3 separate regions of the Homo sapiens genome follow, and all the other regions are linked to region 1. Evidence: promoter capture Hi-C in human tissues and cell types (Jung and others, 2019). All regions are on one chromosome and are shown on one strand. The core of a region is centred on a gene start or on the middle of the fragment in contact, and the rest is flanking DNA. Distances in the headings are between cores, read along the strand shown.

Region 1 (4,961 bases), core at 716-3,215:
TCGCATGAAGCCAGGAGTTTGAGAAAAGCCTGACAACATAACAAGACCCTGTCTCTACTAAAAATAAAAAATTAGCCAGGCAACAGTGGTGCACGCCTGTAGTGCCAGCTACTTGGGAGGCTGAGGTGGGAGGATCACTTCAGCCTGGGAGTTTGAGGCTGCAGTGAGCTGTGATGGCGCCACTGCACTCCAGTTTGGGCAACAAGAGTGAGACCTGTCTCAAAAATAAGTAAATAAACAAATACTTTTTTTTCTTTTTTTAGATAGAATTTCACTCTTGTTGCCTAGGCTGGAGTGCAATGGTGTGATCTCAGCTCACCACAACCTCCACCTTCTGGGTTCAAGCGATTCTCCTGCCTCAGCCTCCCTGAGTAGCTGGGATTACAGGCATACACCACCATGCCTGGCTAATTTTATATTTTTAGTAGAGACTGGGTTTCTCCATGTTGGTCAGGCTGGTCTCAAACTCCCGACTTCAGGTGATCCACCCGCCTCAGCCTCCCAAAGTGCTGGGATGACAGGCGTGAGCCACCATGCTGGGCCATAAATATTTTTTAATCTGTGTTTTTTTAAAACTGCAAAAACAGATCACCTTTTGTAGTCTGTACATGTAAAAGAGAGTCAGGGGCTGAGATCATGGTAACAGTTTTCCCCACCGTGAACAGCTGGCCCTGCCCACTAAATGGCAGCAGTGCTTCGCAGTCATTGTGAAATTAAAACACTTCTCCCCACGTTACTAGACTCACACACACACAATCTTCCCTCCCAGAACCACTGAGTTAATGCTTCAGATATTAACCTGACAAGTCAGTAAAATTCCAACTGAACATTTGGAAGGATATATGCCAAAATATTAATGGTGCTTTTCTAAAGCAGAAGGGGAATTACAAGAAGCACTCCCTTTTTTCTTTCTTTCCTTTTTACGTTCTGTATTGTGTAAAATTTTGCTTACAACCTGTATGAACTTTGCAACCAAACCAAAAAAAAAGTCATTTTTGAAGCCAGTGTGTCAGAGCTCCCAGTAGTGTACATGTTTGTTTTGGTCCTTTCAAGGAGGATTCAAGTCTGCGATGGAGAAACCACCAATTCACTTTTTCAAATGCCAAAACAACTCCGCAGGCGTGGAGGAGACCTATCTTGCAGCGCTGTAGGCCCAAGGCACCAGGGAATCCGGTCCAGCTCAGCCCTACAGCTTTGCTCAGCCCCGTCTGCACCGCCGCCCCGTGGCCAAGGGCAGTACTGCGTCCTCCAAAAGGCAAGGGCGGAGGAGGGGCCAGGGGCCTTGCCCCAGGGGCAAGCTTCTTTCTGTCCCACTGACCACATGGCAGTCTGGTGAAGTTTATGGACCCCTCTCTCAGTATAATGGCGGGTAAATATATAAATAAAATATATATGCTGGAAAGAAAACTAATACTGGTGAGATGATTCTTAAAACTCTTTATAAATGTGTAATATAATAATAGCCGTTTCATTATTGTAAATAACCAGCTCTAGGGGCAGGTCTAGGAACTCATTGTTTTCCAAGCAGTGAGGGGTATACACGACGTTTCGAGATATCCACAACTTGATGTGCCAGTGTCTGTGATTGTAATTGGTAACAAAGTTGCAGGTACTGCTAACAGTACACTCTGAATAAGAGGAAAAGCTAAATATTAGAAGTTGATGAAAGTCAATATGTAACTTTTTCCCATGCGAATTCGACTTACAGACCCCTTAGGGCGCACGGACCACAGGTTAAGGCCCCCTTGAAGGGGCACGAGTTTAGGAGAAACTCTGGTGTGGGTTTTCAGTCCTGGAAGGTGAGCCCTGGGGTAGGCACGCGTGGGCGCTCAGAAAAGGGAAGGCAGAGGCGCCTCCCCGGCTGGGCCTGCGGAGGGATGACCCACACGCCCCTCCCCTCGCTTCCTTGGCCTGGTTTCACGCGACTAGAGAAAGTTAAAGACCCGTGTGACTGAAGAGGAGCTCACAGTTCCCAGCGTCTGCTCCCACGGTGTCCAGCGCCCAGAATGCGGCTTCTGGTCCTGCTATGGGGTTGCCTGCTGCTCCCAGGTGAGATGGGGAGAGGGTCTCGGGAGGGATGTGGGGCTCACCCTTGTGGTCTGCAGGGAAAGGACCTCTTGACTGACTGATAGCCCCACCCCACCTATCCTCAGCCTCCTCAGCCCTAGGGGAGCGGGGCGGGCTGGGGGTGGGGGGAGGTGGGGGTGGCGCCGGGGCCGCACTTGCTGTTTCTGGAACCTAGAGCCAGGTTTTCTCCAGACCTGTGGGTTTCCCCTCATGGCAATGTGGCTGTGAGAGTTGCTTTGCCTCTCTAATCTTAATTTTTCTACCCTGTGCCAAGCCTGGAGGCGGACAAGACACCCCATCTGGTTGCCCTGTTAAACTCAGCAAATATTTGTTGAATTTCGGCTATGCCTCTCCCCACAACCCTGAAAGATGAAGAATTATCACGTTTCATCAATTCTTTTGCTTTCTTTTTCTTTACCTTCTAACACTTAAAATCAGGATAAATCCTACAACTGATGTCAGTTGTTCAGTTGGCAATAGTGAGACCCCATCTCTACAAACAAACAAACAAACAAACAAACAAAATTAGCCAGGCATGGTGGTGCACACTTGTAGTCCTAGCTAGTGGGAGGCTAAGGTGGGAGGATCGCTTGAGCCCCAGAGGTCAAGGCTACAGTGAGCCATGAGCACCATTGCCCTCCAGCCTGGGCAACAGAGTGAGATCCTGTCTAAAAACAAAACAAAACCAGGCACGGTGGCTCACGCCTGTAATCCAAGCTCTTTGGGAGGCTGAGGCGGACGGATCACAAGGTCAGGAGATCAAGACCATCCTGGCTAACACGGTGAAACCCCGTCTCTACTAAAAATACAAAAAATTAGCCGGGCATGGCAGCACGTGGCTGTAGTCCCAGGTACTCAGGAGGCTGAGGCAGGAGAATCACCTGAACCCGGGAGGCAGAAGTTTCAGTGAGCAGACATCGGGCCACTGCACTCCAGCCTGGGCGGCAAAGTGAGACTCCATCTCAAAAACAAACAAACAAACAAACAAAACAAAACAAAACACTCAGAAACCCTGCTGGCTATCTGGCTGTCAGATTCTATCTGAATCTAGAACGCCACCCCTGCACCCCAATTCCTCAATGGGCCAGGGTTAGGGAAACAGCAACAGCCCTGCCCCAAGTTCCCCCAGCGTGGGAGGTTAGTAATGGCTCTTCCAAGGCTGTCCCCAGAAGGGATGACTGAGAAAAGCCTTCCTTCTTCCTCCTAAAATGGAAGCTCTGGCCTTGACCTTGGTACATGGAGCCTGGTTTTTCCAACCTCCACTCCTGCTCTGATTTTAGGTTATGAAGCCCTGGAGGGCCCAGAGGAAATCAGCGGGTTCGAAGGGGACACTGTGTCCCTGCAGTGCACCTACAGGGAAGAGCTGAGGGACCACCGGAAGTACTGGTGCAGGAAGGGTGGGATCCTCTTCTCTCGCTGCTCTGGCACCATCTATGCAGAAGAAGAAGGCCAGGAGACAATGAAGGGCAGGGTGTCCATCCGTGACAGCCGCCAGGAGCTCTCGCTCATTGTGACCCTGTGGAACCTCACCCTGCAAGACGCTGGGGAGTACTGGTGTGGGGTCGAAAAACGGGGCCCCGATGAGTCTTTACTGATCTCTCTGTTCGTCTTTCCAGGTAACAGATATCTCTCCTTCCCCAGGCTGGGGACAGGAGCTGCAGAGGGAAGAGGGAGGGGTGGTGGGGCATAATCCTGGTACCAACATTATGGGCACTGAGTCCTCAGGGAGATCATGCAGGTCAAGCACCGAGCAAGGCTTGGGGCACAGAAGGAGCCGCCTGAGTCTTGGCCATTGTCTCACTCTTGCTGCCCGAGGTCACACCAGTAGTAGATGTCAGAGCAGGACCGGACCCAGATCTGTCCAGGGCTGGGCTCGGCGCCTTTCCTTTCTGCCCAGGTGTGCTGGAGGGAGATTTCCATAGGCTGGGTACAAGATAGACATATCAGGGGATAAAGAAGACTCCTCGCCTGGTGTCAGAGATATTCCTGAGGCCTCCCGAGGCTGGGCCAACCATTGCTGCATTCCAGACCCAGCCCACAGCATCACCCTGGACATGCTGGCCTCGCCCTGCTTGTGCCCTCAACTCTCCCCTCCTGGCCTCCACCTCCCCAGATATTGAAGTCCAGCCACAGGTGCTAGAGTGCCTGGGAACCAGCCTCTGGGTAGGATGCCTGAAGGAGGGATCGTTAAATGCAGGGACACTAGGGGGCCGGGGCTGGAGCTATGGGGCCTGGGTAGGGGATAAAGCACCTCTCTGGGAGCCCAGAACCCCAAGTGGACCTGCTGAGCTAAGGAGAAAGAAGCCAGAGAGGGCCCAGGGGAGTGGGAGCCTTGGTCTGCTGGCCAGTGTGGGCGAGGTACATCTTTGTATCCCCATTTCACGGATGAGGGACTGAGGCTCCAAGAGACTAAGTGATTTGCCCAAGATCTCACAGCAGGAAGTGATGGAACTGGGATTCAAACACAAGTCGTTTCCAGCTTTGATGTCTGCTTTATTCCTCTCCTAGCCCCATAGCTGGGACCTATCCCAATCCCAGGCCCATCCCTACCACCATAGCCCCTATTTTTTTTTTATTCCTTTATCCATGGATCTTTAATTTGAGGAAATAAAGTTAAACTTGCCAAATAGCAGCAGCATCGAACCACATTGAATCTGTTCTTCATTATTTACAAGATTCTCTTATCTCTTCCAATTCTTATCAGTGTTCACATGTCATTTCTACCAGTTATGATCAAGTTCGCTTGTGTTTTAGGTTTACCCTCATTTGTAATTCTTTATTTGTGTATGACATGTGTATTGCTATATTATCGTCCTATATCGGACTCTATTGGCCTCTCTCTGATGGCAGTTGGGATGTTGAAAATGAAGAAGACTGACGACAGTGATGTGCTG
Region 2 (4,961 bases), core at 1,463-3,962, 340 kb before region 1:
GAGACTTCATCTCAAAAAAAAAAAAAAAGCCTTTTTTTATGGGCTGTATTATTTGGATAGGCTCTGGTTTATTTAACTAGTCCTATATCCATAGAAACATCGTTGATTGTAATCCTTGGCTGTTACAAACAACGTAGAAATAAGAAATAACTTTTGGGGAAAGATATAGAAATTTGGGAGTTACAGTGGGAAGGAACATTTTTTATGTATCTTTTAAATTCATTGTTGACTTCTTTAACTATATGTGTATATTCCTCTTTTCTTTGGTGTTAGAATATAGTAATTATTTTATTCCAGAGTAATGTAGATTTTAATGACCATATTTATATTCTGTTTAATGACCATATTTATATTCTGGCAGATTTTAATGACCATATTTATATTCTGTTGCTTTCAGGCCGTCCATGACAATCAGATCCTGATTGTCATTGGTGAGACAGGATCTGGAAAGACAACACAGATCACCCAGTACCTGGCGGAGGCAGGCTACACTTCCAGGGGCAAGATTGGGTGTACCCAGCCCAGAAGAGTGGCAGCTATGTCGGTGGCCAAAAGAGTGTCAGAGGAGTTTGGTTGTTGCTTAGGCCAAGAGGTAAGTAGATAGTGGAGTCGCTCGAAAAATACCAGAAGCAAAGGCCCAGGTCTCTTAATCTATCAAATGGAAATATTAATAATACTGCCTTTTTTCAGGTTTCTCCTGAGGGAGAGAGGGTTCCCATTGTCATAATCAGTCTGTTCAGAGTATAGTCTAAGACATACCTTACTATGAGGAAATTACTGTACATCTTGATCAGATTCTTAAGATTATGAGTGAGAGTGACTGGGCTGAAATCTTGCCTGGTGATTGGGAAAAGGAGACATTTGTATCCTAGGTTTTCCCCTTCTCTTCTGCTTTAGGTGGGCTACACCATTCGATTTGAGGACTGCACTAGCCCTGAAACAGTCATCAAGTACATGACAGATGGGATGTTGCTTAGAGAGTGCTTGATTGACCCTGACCTCACTCAGTACGCGATCATCATGTTGGACGAGGCACATGAGAGGACAATTCACACTGATGTGCTCTTTGGATTGTTGAAAAAGGTAACTAGATGCTCTTTAATGACCCCTCTACCTGTTGGAAGCTGAATTCTGGCAGTTGGATTTGAGTACCTGTGTCTTTGGGTAGTCCTTTTCAGTAAGCCACATAATATTTCTCTTCAGACAGTTCAGAAACGGCAGGACATGAAGCTGATTGTCACCTCAGCCACCTTGGATGCAGTGAAGTTTTCTCAATACTTCTATGAAGCTCCCATTTTCACCATCCCAGGTCGAACATATCCAGTGGAAATACTGTACACAAAGGAACCTGAGACAGATTATCTGGATGCCAGCCTGATTACTGTTATGCAGATTCATTTAACAGAACCACCAGGTAAGGGGAAAAAGCAATTTTCCTTTTTGGGAGGCCTAATTTTCCCTCTTAGGCCAAAAGTCCTCATATGGGTATCTTTTTTGCTAATCTTTTTAAAAACAACTTCTAAATATTCATCTCTCTGCAAGCCTCAGGCTTGTATGTTTGAAATGATGGTGGTTATAATGTCATATATAAACAAACTTGTATTGTTTACTTACTGGTCAGAATATGAATGCATATGTTCTGTTATTTGAAGTTTTATTAATATCACCATAGCCCTTGTATAGGACACACATACACACACAGAAAGTAGATGAATGTTCTATTCTGCTCGTAGGTGATATCCTGGTCTTCCTGACTGGTCAGGAAGAAATTGATACTGCTTGTGAGATCCTGTATGAAAGAATGAAATCCCTGGGACCTGATGTTCCAGAGTTAATTATCCTCCCAGTGTACTCTGCTCTTCCCAGTGAGATGCAGACCCGAATCTTTGACCCAGCTCCACCAGGCAGCAGAAAGGTAACATGGGCAAAAATGAAGCTTCCATGTGCCCTGAAACCATGTGTTGTGTGCAGCCTGTCAGCCATAGTAGGGATTGCTTAGGGTGTATGCAAGTCTTTTTTTTTTTTTTTTTCCTCGAGGCAGAGTCTCGCTCTCACCCAGGCAGGAGTGCAATGGCACCATCTCAGCTCACTGCAAGCTCCGCCTCCCGGGTTCACGCCATTCTCCTGCCTCAGCCTCCTGAGTAGCTGGGACTACAGGCACCTGCCACCACGCCTGGCTAATTTTTTGTATTTTTAGTAGAGACGGGGTTTCACCGTGTTAGCCAGTATGGTCTCGATCTCCTGACCTCGTGATCCGCCCGCCTCAGCCTCCCAAAGTGCTGGGATTATAGGTGTGAGCCACCGCGCCCGGCCAGGTGTATGCAAGTCTTGTTTGTTAGGTTTCAGAGACTGGTCCAACCAATTTGTTTAGGAATGAGGTCCAACCAATTTGTTTAGTATGTGACCTCTCCTCTTCTTCCTCTTCTTCATTTGACAAATATTTTTTGAGCATCTACCAGGCTTTGGGCTACACATGGGAGCTGCATTGTGAGAACAAGCCTCTATCTGCTGTGGGGCATCCCCCAGTCAACAGACTTTCAGCATTTAGTGTGAAAATGCCACTCATGCTTGGATACCCAGGCGGGAGCACCCAACCCTGTCTTCCTAGAGGAAATAAGGATCTAAGGTAGTCCTGGAGAACTCTTGAAAGGCAAGGGGACAAGCATTCTAAGGACACAGAACTATCTGTGATGGCCTGGAGACGAGCAAGTAGGGCCAGTTCAGGGAATGGCATAGTTCCAGTGGCTGGAACCAAGTATATGACTGTGTGTATGAGACAACAGGAAAGGAGACAGATGGATGTAGGTATTTTTTTAGTAACAGTTTTATTGAGATATAATTTACATACCTTTCAATTAACTCCCTCCACCTCCCACTTATTTTTTTTTTTTTTTTTGAGATGGGGTCTCAGTCTGTCACCCAAGGTGGAGTGCAGTGATGTGATCTCAGCTCACTGCAACCTCTGCCTTTCAGGCTCAAGTGATCCTCCTGCCTCAGCCGCCTAAGCAGCTGGGACTACAGGTGCATGCCACCATTCTTGGCTAATTTTGGTTTTTGTTTTTGTTTTTGTGTTTTTTTTTGAGACAGAGTTTCACTCTTGTTGCCCAGGCTGGAGTGCAACGGCACAATCTCGGCTCACTGCAACCTTCACCTCCCAGGTTCAAGCGATTCCCCCGCCTCAGCCTCCCGAGTAGCTGGGACTATAAGCACCCACTACCACGCCTGGCTTATTTTTGTATTTTTAGTAGAGATGGGGTTTCCCCACGTTGGCCGGGCTGGTCTCGAACTCCTGACCTCATGTGATCTGCCGGTCTCGGCCTCCCAAAGTGCTGGGATTACCGGCGTGAGCCACTGCGCCCAGCCAATTTTTGTATTTTTTTTGTAGAAACACAGTTTCGCCATGTTGCCCAGATTGGAATTTACTGTTTTTTGTTTGTTTGTTTGTTTGTTTGTTTGTTTTGAGATGGAGTTTCGCTCTTGTTGCCGAGGCTGGAGTGCAATGGTGCGATCTTGGCTCACCGCAACCTCCGCCTCCCAGATTCAAGTGATTCTCCTGCCTCAGCCTCCCGAGTAGCTGTGATTACAGGCATGTGCCACCACACCCGGCTAATTTTGTATTTTTAGTAGAGACAGGGTTTCTCCATTCTGGTCAGGCTGGTCTCGAACTCCTGACCTCAGATGATCTGCCCCCCTCGGCCTCCCAAAGCGCCGGGATTCCAGGTGTGAGCCACCGTGCCCAGCCAGAATTTACCCTTTTAAAGTGTACAGTTCAAAGGCTTTTACCCATGGTATGTGGGGATTGGTTCCAGGACCCCCGAGGATACCAAAATCCAAGTATGCTCAAGTCTCTTATGTAAAATGCCATAGTATTTGCATGTAAACTATGCACATCTTCCTGTGTGATACTTTATCTCTAGATTACCTATAATACCTCATACAGTGTAAATGCTATATAAGCAGTTGTTTTACTGTATTTTTTATTTGTATTTTTTTATTGTTGAATTTTTTTCCTCAAATATTTTTAATCTGCTGTTGGTTGAATCCATAGATGGGGAACCAGCAGATACAGAGGGCTAACCATATTCACAGAATTGTGCAGCCATCACCACAATTATATTTAGAACAATTTTATCTCCCTAAAAAGAAATGCTGTACCCTTTAGCAGTCATCTACCCCCATTTACTCCTCTGCTCAGCCTCTGGAAACCACTAACCTATATCTTCCATCTCTGTGGATTTGCCTATTCTAGACATTTCATATAAATGAAATCACATATTTGTGGCTGGCTTATTTCCAGTGATTTTTCCAGACTTAGCATGTTTTCAGAGTTCATCAACATTGTAGTATGTATCAATACTTCATTTCTTTTTCTTGCTGAATACTGTTGTGTTGTATGGGCACAACACATTTTGTTTATCCATTTATCAGTTGATGGACATTGGAGCTGAGCGCAGTGGCTCACACCTGTAATTTCATCACTTTGGGAGGCTGAGGCAGATGGATCACCTGAGGTCAGGAGTTCAAGACCAGCCTGGCTGATATGGTGAAACCCTGTCTCTACTAAAAATACAAAAATTAGCCAGGCGTGGTGGCGGGTGCCTGTAATCCCAGCTACCTGGGAGGCTGGGACAGGAGAATCACCTGAACCCAAGAGGCAGAGGTTTCAGTGAGCCGAGATCGTGCCATTGCACTCCAGCCTGGGCAATGAGCAAAACTATCTCAAAAGGAAGATAAAGATAGACATAGGAGTCATTTTCACTTTTGGGCTTTCTTGAATAATGCTGCTGTGAACATTTGTTTACACATTTTTGTGTGAGCCAGGCGCAGTGGCTTATGCCTGTGATCCCAGCATTTTTTTTTTTTTTTTTTTGAGACAGAGTCTTTCTCTGTCATCCAGGCTGGAATGCAGTGGCATGATCTTGGTTCATTGCAACCTCTGCCTCCCAGGTTCAAGTGATTCT
Region 3 (4,961 bases), core at 808-3,307, 280 kb before region 1:
AGTCAAGAACAACAGCAAATCTTTCATCGTTCATCATGTGCCAGGCTAAATGTTTTGCATGTGCTACTCATTTATTCCACATCATATATGTGTACAGCGTAGAGAAGTTTCTTTCTAACTTCTCTGTTAGAAAGTTTCTAAGTGTCTGGGCGCAGTGGCTCACGCCTGTAATCCCAGCACTTTGGGAGGCCGAGGTGGGTGAATAAACTGAGGTCAGGAGTTCGAGACCATCCTGGCCAACATGGAGAAACCCTGTCTCTACTAAAAATACAAAATTCGCCAGGCGTGGTGGCGCATGCTTATAGTCCCAGCTACTCGGGAGGCTGAGGCAGAAGAATCGCTTGAACCTGGGAGGCGGAGGTTGTGGTGAGCTGAGATGGCACCATTGCACTTCAGCCTGGGCAACAAGAGCGAAACTCCTTCTCAAAAAAAAAAAAAAAAAAAAGAAAGAAAAGAAAGTTTCCCAAAGTCACAGAGCTAGTGAATAGCAAGGGGAGTCAATGAGTAAGCTCAGGCCAGCAACCCTGCAAATCAGATCTCTCTCCAGCAGAGGTGTGCTCTGAGTGTCCCAGGGATTTGAGAGAGGGGCTCTGCTTGGGGAAGTGGGGAGGCAGCATTTGAGCCAGTCCTCATGGGATGAATGAAATTTCTTCCTAGGAGAGGGGAGAAGGTTCCAGGTTTAAAGAAGCAGCATTTGCCAAGGTGTAGGAGCCAGAAAGGAAATCCTAGGGGAGAGACAAATTTGGGGGTAGTCCTCAAAATTCCTACCCTCAGGCTAGGGAGTGTGAGCATTTTGAAGACCTTGTTTAGGAGCTTGTATTATATCCTATAGATCATGGGAGTCACTGGGGTCGGGGGCAGGGTGGCGGAGCATGGGTAGGTTAAAGCAATTCTGACTGAATCAGACCCTAGGCAAGAGGAAGGAGGTCACTGCCTTGGAATCTTCAAGAGTCGCTCATCCCTGATCCTGTCCCCCTTTTGCCACATAAGATGTGATGCCATCACTCAACTCATCATTCACCAACAAGCTATGGGGCCTGGAACCTTTCTATGCCTCAGTTTCCTCATCTGTAAAACGGCAATACTAGTAGTACCTGCCTCAGAGACCTGGGTGTGCAGGTAAATTGAGATGCTCTAGGGAAGCTCAGGCTTTCAGTAAGGGATCAATAAAGGCTAGTTCCTGTTATCAGATGTTACCTCCCCACCCTGTCCCGGGTCCAGTCAGCATCTCGAAGTCCTGACTCTCAGGAATGCCCCCACTCCGCCTACCAGTCTGATCTAAATCCCTCTGCTGCAGATGGAGCCCAGCTTCCCTGACAGCCTTTCAGGACGGGAAGCTCCATGTTTAGTGTTCCCCACCCTCGTCCAGCCTCTCTAATCTCAGCTCTTCCCTTTCCCCTCCCCTGTGATTATCATAAACCCTCTCGAGTTAGGCAGGCTTGGCTGGGCCCCATGCCCCTTTGAAGTCCCAAGCCAGGTTCCCAGCCTCACACACTGACTTCTGAGAAAGCTGCTTCCCATCAAATCCTGCCGCCAAAAAGACTCTCCTCTTAGGTATTCCTGCCAACTCCGTTTTATAATCTCCGTGCCGGGGAGGGAGGACAGTTCAGGCACTTTGTCTGCAGGAAGGAAGCAATTAAATTATTAGCACTTTGAGAAATTAAACGACATAACTTACGGCGGAATAAGTTTAGCCAAAAAAAAAAAAAAACCTTGTAATGTGAGAAAACAATTAAAAAGAATTATATAAGGTTGGGCTCGCTCCTTTATTGCAATAGAGTTAGCAGTTCATTGATTATCGTCCTGTTATAATGCAGCAGGATGGTGCGGGCTGCTGCGGAGGCAGCGACATTCAGGAAGCAAAGCGCTTAGTTGGGTCCTGCAAGAAGAAGAGGTGGGGGAGCTGAAAGGTTTTCCTGGAGGGCAAGGGGGAGGGGAGAGTGGGGTCAGAGGAGGATCACCAAAGCAGCAGCTCTTCTTCCCTTCTCCCTGCTCCTGCCTTGGTAGACATGGAAAAGAGCTAGTCAATTTCAGCAGTTTGTCAGTTGCTGGGGCAGTCAATTCCCTGTGCCCAAAAGATTCTTTTCCTAGGTATTCATCCAGTGAAATGTTCACACGGCTCCATAAGGAGATGTGGATGAGGATGATCAGAGCAGCCTCATAGGAGGCACCCTGGGTGTCCCTCACTGGGAGAGTGGAAAGGTCAAGTGGGTGGAAGCACCAAGGGGCGCCAGGTAGCAGCAAGAAGCACTGACGCCTGTACACAGAGCCCCGCGATAGATCTCAAAAACGTAGTGCTCCGCAACAGCAAAAAATACAAATTCTCTCTACCCGCAACGACATAGGGGAGTCTCCCAGACAAGTTGAGCAAAAGAAGCAAGACATGAAAGACAGGTACGATTCCATGCAGAGGAAGTTCAAGAAAAAATTCAATGAATGGGTGGAGATGGGAGCTGGAAGAGTGGGTACCTCAGGCAGGGAAGGGGGCAGTTTATTGACTGTGAAGGGACACAAGGGAAACTTGGCTGGGGTACTGGAAATGTTCTATATTTTGATCTCGGTGATGATTACACAGATGTATATGTAGGCTAAAAATCGAGTTTCATATTTCAGATCAGTGCACATTACTCACTTTACCGTATATATGTTATACCTCAACAGGAAAGGAAAGAGCAAACAAATGTTGTAGAGGAAAAAAATTGTAGGAAACAAAATATATAACACAATGCTATTTATGTAAATAAACCCCATGCCTACGAAATAACTACCCATCCTGAAAGAACTCAGCAAACAGATTGGGTGCAGTGGCTCATGCCTATAATCCCAGCACTTTGGGATGCTGAGGTGGGGTGATCGCTTGAGCCCAGGAGTTCAAGACCAGCCTGGACAACACAGTGAGACCCCATCTCTACAAAAAAATGAAAAAAATTACAGTGGCATGTCCTTGTAGTCCCAGCAAGTTAGGAGGCTGAGGTGAGAGGATTGCTTGAGCCCATGAGGTCAAGGCTGCAGTGAACTCTGATCTCACCAGTTCACTCCAGCCTGGGTGACAGAGAAGACCCTGTCTCAAAAAAAAAAAAAAAAAAAAAGGGAATGTATGAATGAATGAAACCAAGAGCAGGGCACTACACAGACCAGTTATGACAACAGGCCATGAACGGAGAGTATGGTAGACTCAACCCTCTCCTTCCGAAGTAGAAGCTTGTAGAAAAAGTGCTAATTAATCATATCAGGAGGTCTTTGGGCTGGGTGTGGTATGTGTAGGGTGTTGGGGCATTTTGATCTGGGGAGTGAGTGTAGATTCAGTCACTGATGCCTACCAGGAGGAAAGGGAGGTACAGATCTAGCATTTGTAAACTTCTCTGCAGTTTGCAAAGCAATGCCATGTCTACCACCTCAGAGAGCCTCACATAGGGTGTTTCCTGGAGGGAGTGAACTGGAGCCAGCCCGCCTGCTACCACCCCAAGATGGGTTTCCCTGGCAGGTGATCTAACCTCTCTGCATCTGGGCCATGGGGATGATAAAAAGAATGTCTAGAGTGAGAGGGGAGTTAGAACACAGTTTAGAGAAGGGGTCAGCCACCTTTTTCTTCTCTTTTCTTTTTTGAGACAGAGTTTCGCTCCTGTCACCCAGGCTGGAGTCCAATGGTGCGATCTTGGCTCACTGCAACCTCCGCCTCCTGGGTTCAAGTGATTCTCCTGCCTCAGCCTTCGGAGTAGCTGGGATTACAGGTGCCCGCCACTGCGCCCAGCTAATTTTTGTACTTTTAGTGGAGATAGGGTTTCACTATGTTGGCCAGGCTGGTCTTGAACTCCTAACCTCAGGTGATCCACCCGCCTTAGCCTCCTAAAGTGCTGGGATTACAGGCACGACCCACTGTGCCCGGCCCAGCCACCTTTTTCTATAGAAGGTCAGGTGGTAAATATTTTAGCCTTTGAGGGCCATAAGGTCTCTGTCATACCTACTCTGGAAGCAGCCATAGATGTAAATGAATGAGCATGACTGTGTTCCAACAAAATTTTATTTATGGACACGGACATTTGAATTTCATGTAATTTTCATATGTCACAAAGTATTATTCCTTTTTTTAACTTTTAGGTTCAGGGGTACATGTGCAGGTTTGTTATATAGGTAAACTTGTGTCACGGGGTTTTGTTGTACAGATTATTTCATCACCTAGGTACTAAGCCCAGTACCCAATATTTGTTTATTTATTTATTTTTTTAGAAATAGGGTCAGCCGGGTATGGTGGCTCACGTCTGTAATCCGAACACTTTGGGAGGCCAAGGTGGGCAGATCACTTGAGGTAAGGAGTTTGAGACCAGCCTGGCCAACATGGTGAAAATCCATCTCTACTGAAAATACAAAAATTAGCCAGGTGTGGTGGCACAGGCCTATAGTGTCAGTTACTTGGGAGGCTGAGGGAGGAGAATAGCTTGAACCCGGGAGGCAGAGGTTGCGGTGAGCTGAGATCGCACCACTGCACTCCAGCCTGGGTGACAGAGCGAGACTCCGTCTCAAAGAAAAAAAAAAGAGAGAGACAGGGCCTCACTCTGTTGCCCAGACTAGAGCACAGTGGCACCATCATGCTCACTGCTGGCTGGAACTCTTGGGCTCAAGTGATCCTCCTGCCTCAGCTTCCCAAGTAGCTAGGGCTACAGGCACATGCCATCACACCTGGATAATTTTTTAATTTTTTGTTGAGACAGAGGTCTTGCTACATTGCCCAGGCTGGTCTCGACTCCTAGCCTCAAGGGATTCTCCCACCTAGGCTTCCTAAAGTGCTGGGATTACAGGTTGAGCCACCACGCCCAGCTGTGAAGTATTATTCTTTTGATTTTTTTTTTCAAACCTTTTAAAAATGTAAGAATGATTCTCAACTTGCAGGCTGTACACAAACAGGTAGGAGGCCATAACTGCTGACCCCTGGTCTAGAGGATAAATGAGTTGGAGCAGTCCTT

The links. Contacts are between HindIII fragments. The study calls those that stand out against the background at their distance.
Region 2: a fragment that was not itself captured here is called in contact with the fragment with the promoter of CD300LG in region 1 in 4 of the 25 tissues and cell types used here (IMR-90 fibroblasts, liver, mesenchymal stem cells and 1 more).
Region 3: a fragment that was not itself captured here is called in contact with the fragment with the promoter of CD300LG in region 1 in 1 of the 25 tissues and cell types used here (pancreas).

The regions. Positions count from the first base shown.
Region 1 is chr17:43,845,211-43,850,171 of GRCh38, forward strand. It overlaps CD300LG (CD300 molecule like family member g), which reads left to right and starts at 1,966. Exons shown (of 7, transcript NM_145273.4): 1 at 1,966-2,049; 2 at 3,348-3,683. The coding sequence starts at 2,007. LOC107984979 (a long non-coding RNA gene) reads left to right here. Exons shown (of 3, transcript XR_001753057.2): 3 at 1,054-1,265. LOC107985077 (a long non-coding RNA gene) reads right to left here. Exons shown (of 2, transcript XR_001752896.2): 2 at 4,540-4,961. The HindIII fragment of the contact is 22,281 bases long and covers 1-4,961 here.
Region 2 is chr17:43,506,606-43,511,566 of GRCh38, forward strand. It overlaps DHX8 (DEAH-box helicase 8), which reads left to right. Exons shown (of 23, transcript NM_004941.3): 13 at 398-592; 14 at 898-1,083; 15 at 1,204-1,414; 16 at 1,734-1,915. Among named protein-coding and RNA genes, the nearest start is that of DHX8, 25 kb to the left of the region's middle. The HindIII fragment of the contact is 8,192 bases long and covers 1-4,961 here.
Region 3 is chr17:43,561,539-43,566,499 of GRCh38, forward strand. No RefSeq gene overlaps it. Among named protein-coding and RNA genes, the nearest start is that of ETV4, 18 kb to the left of the region's middle. The HindIII fragment of the contact is 6,893 bases long and covers 1-4,961 here.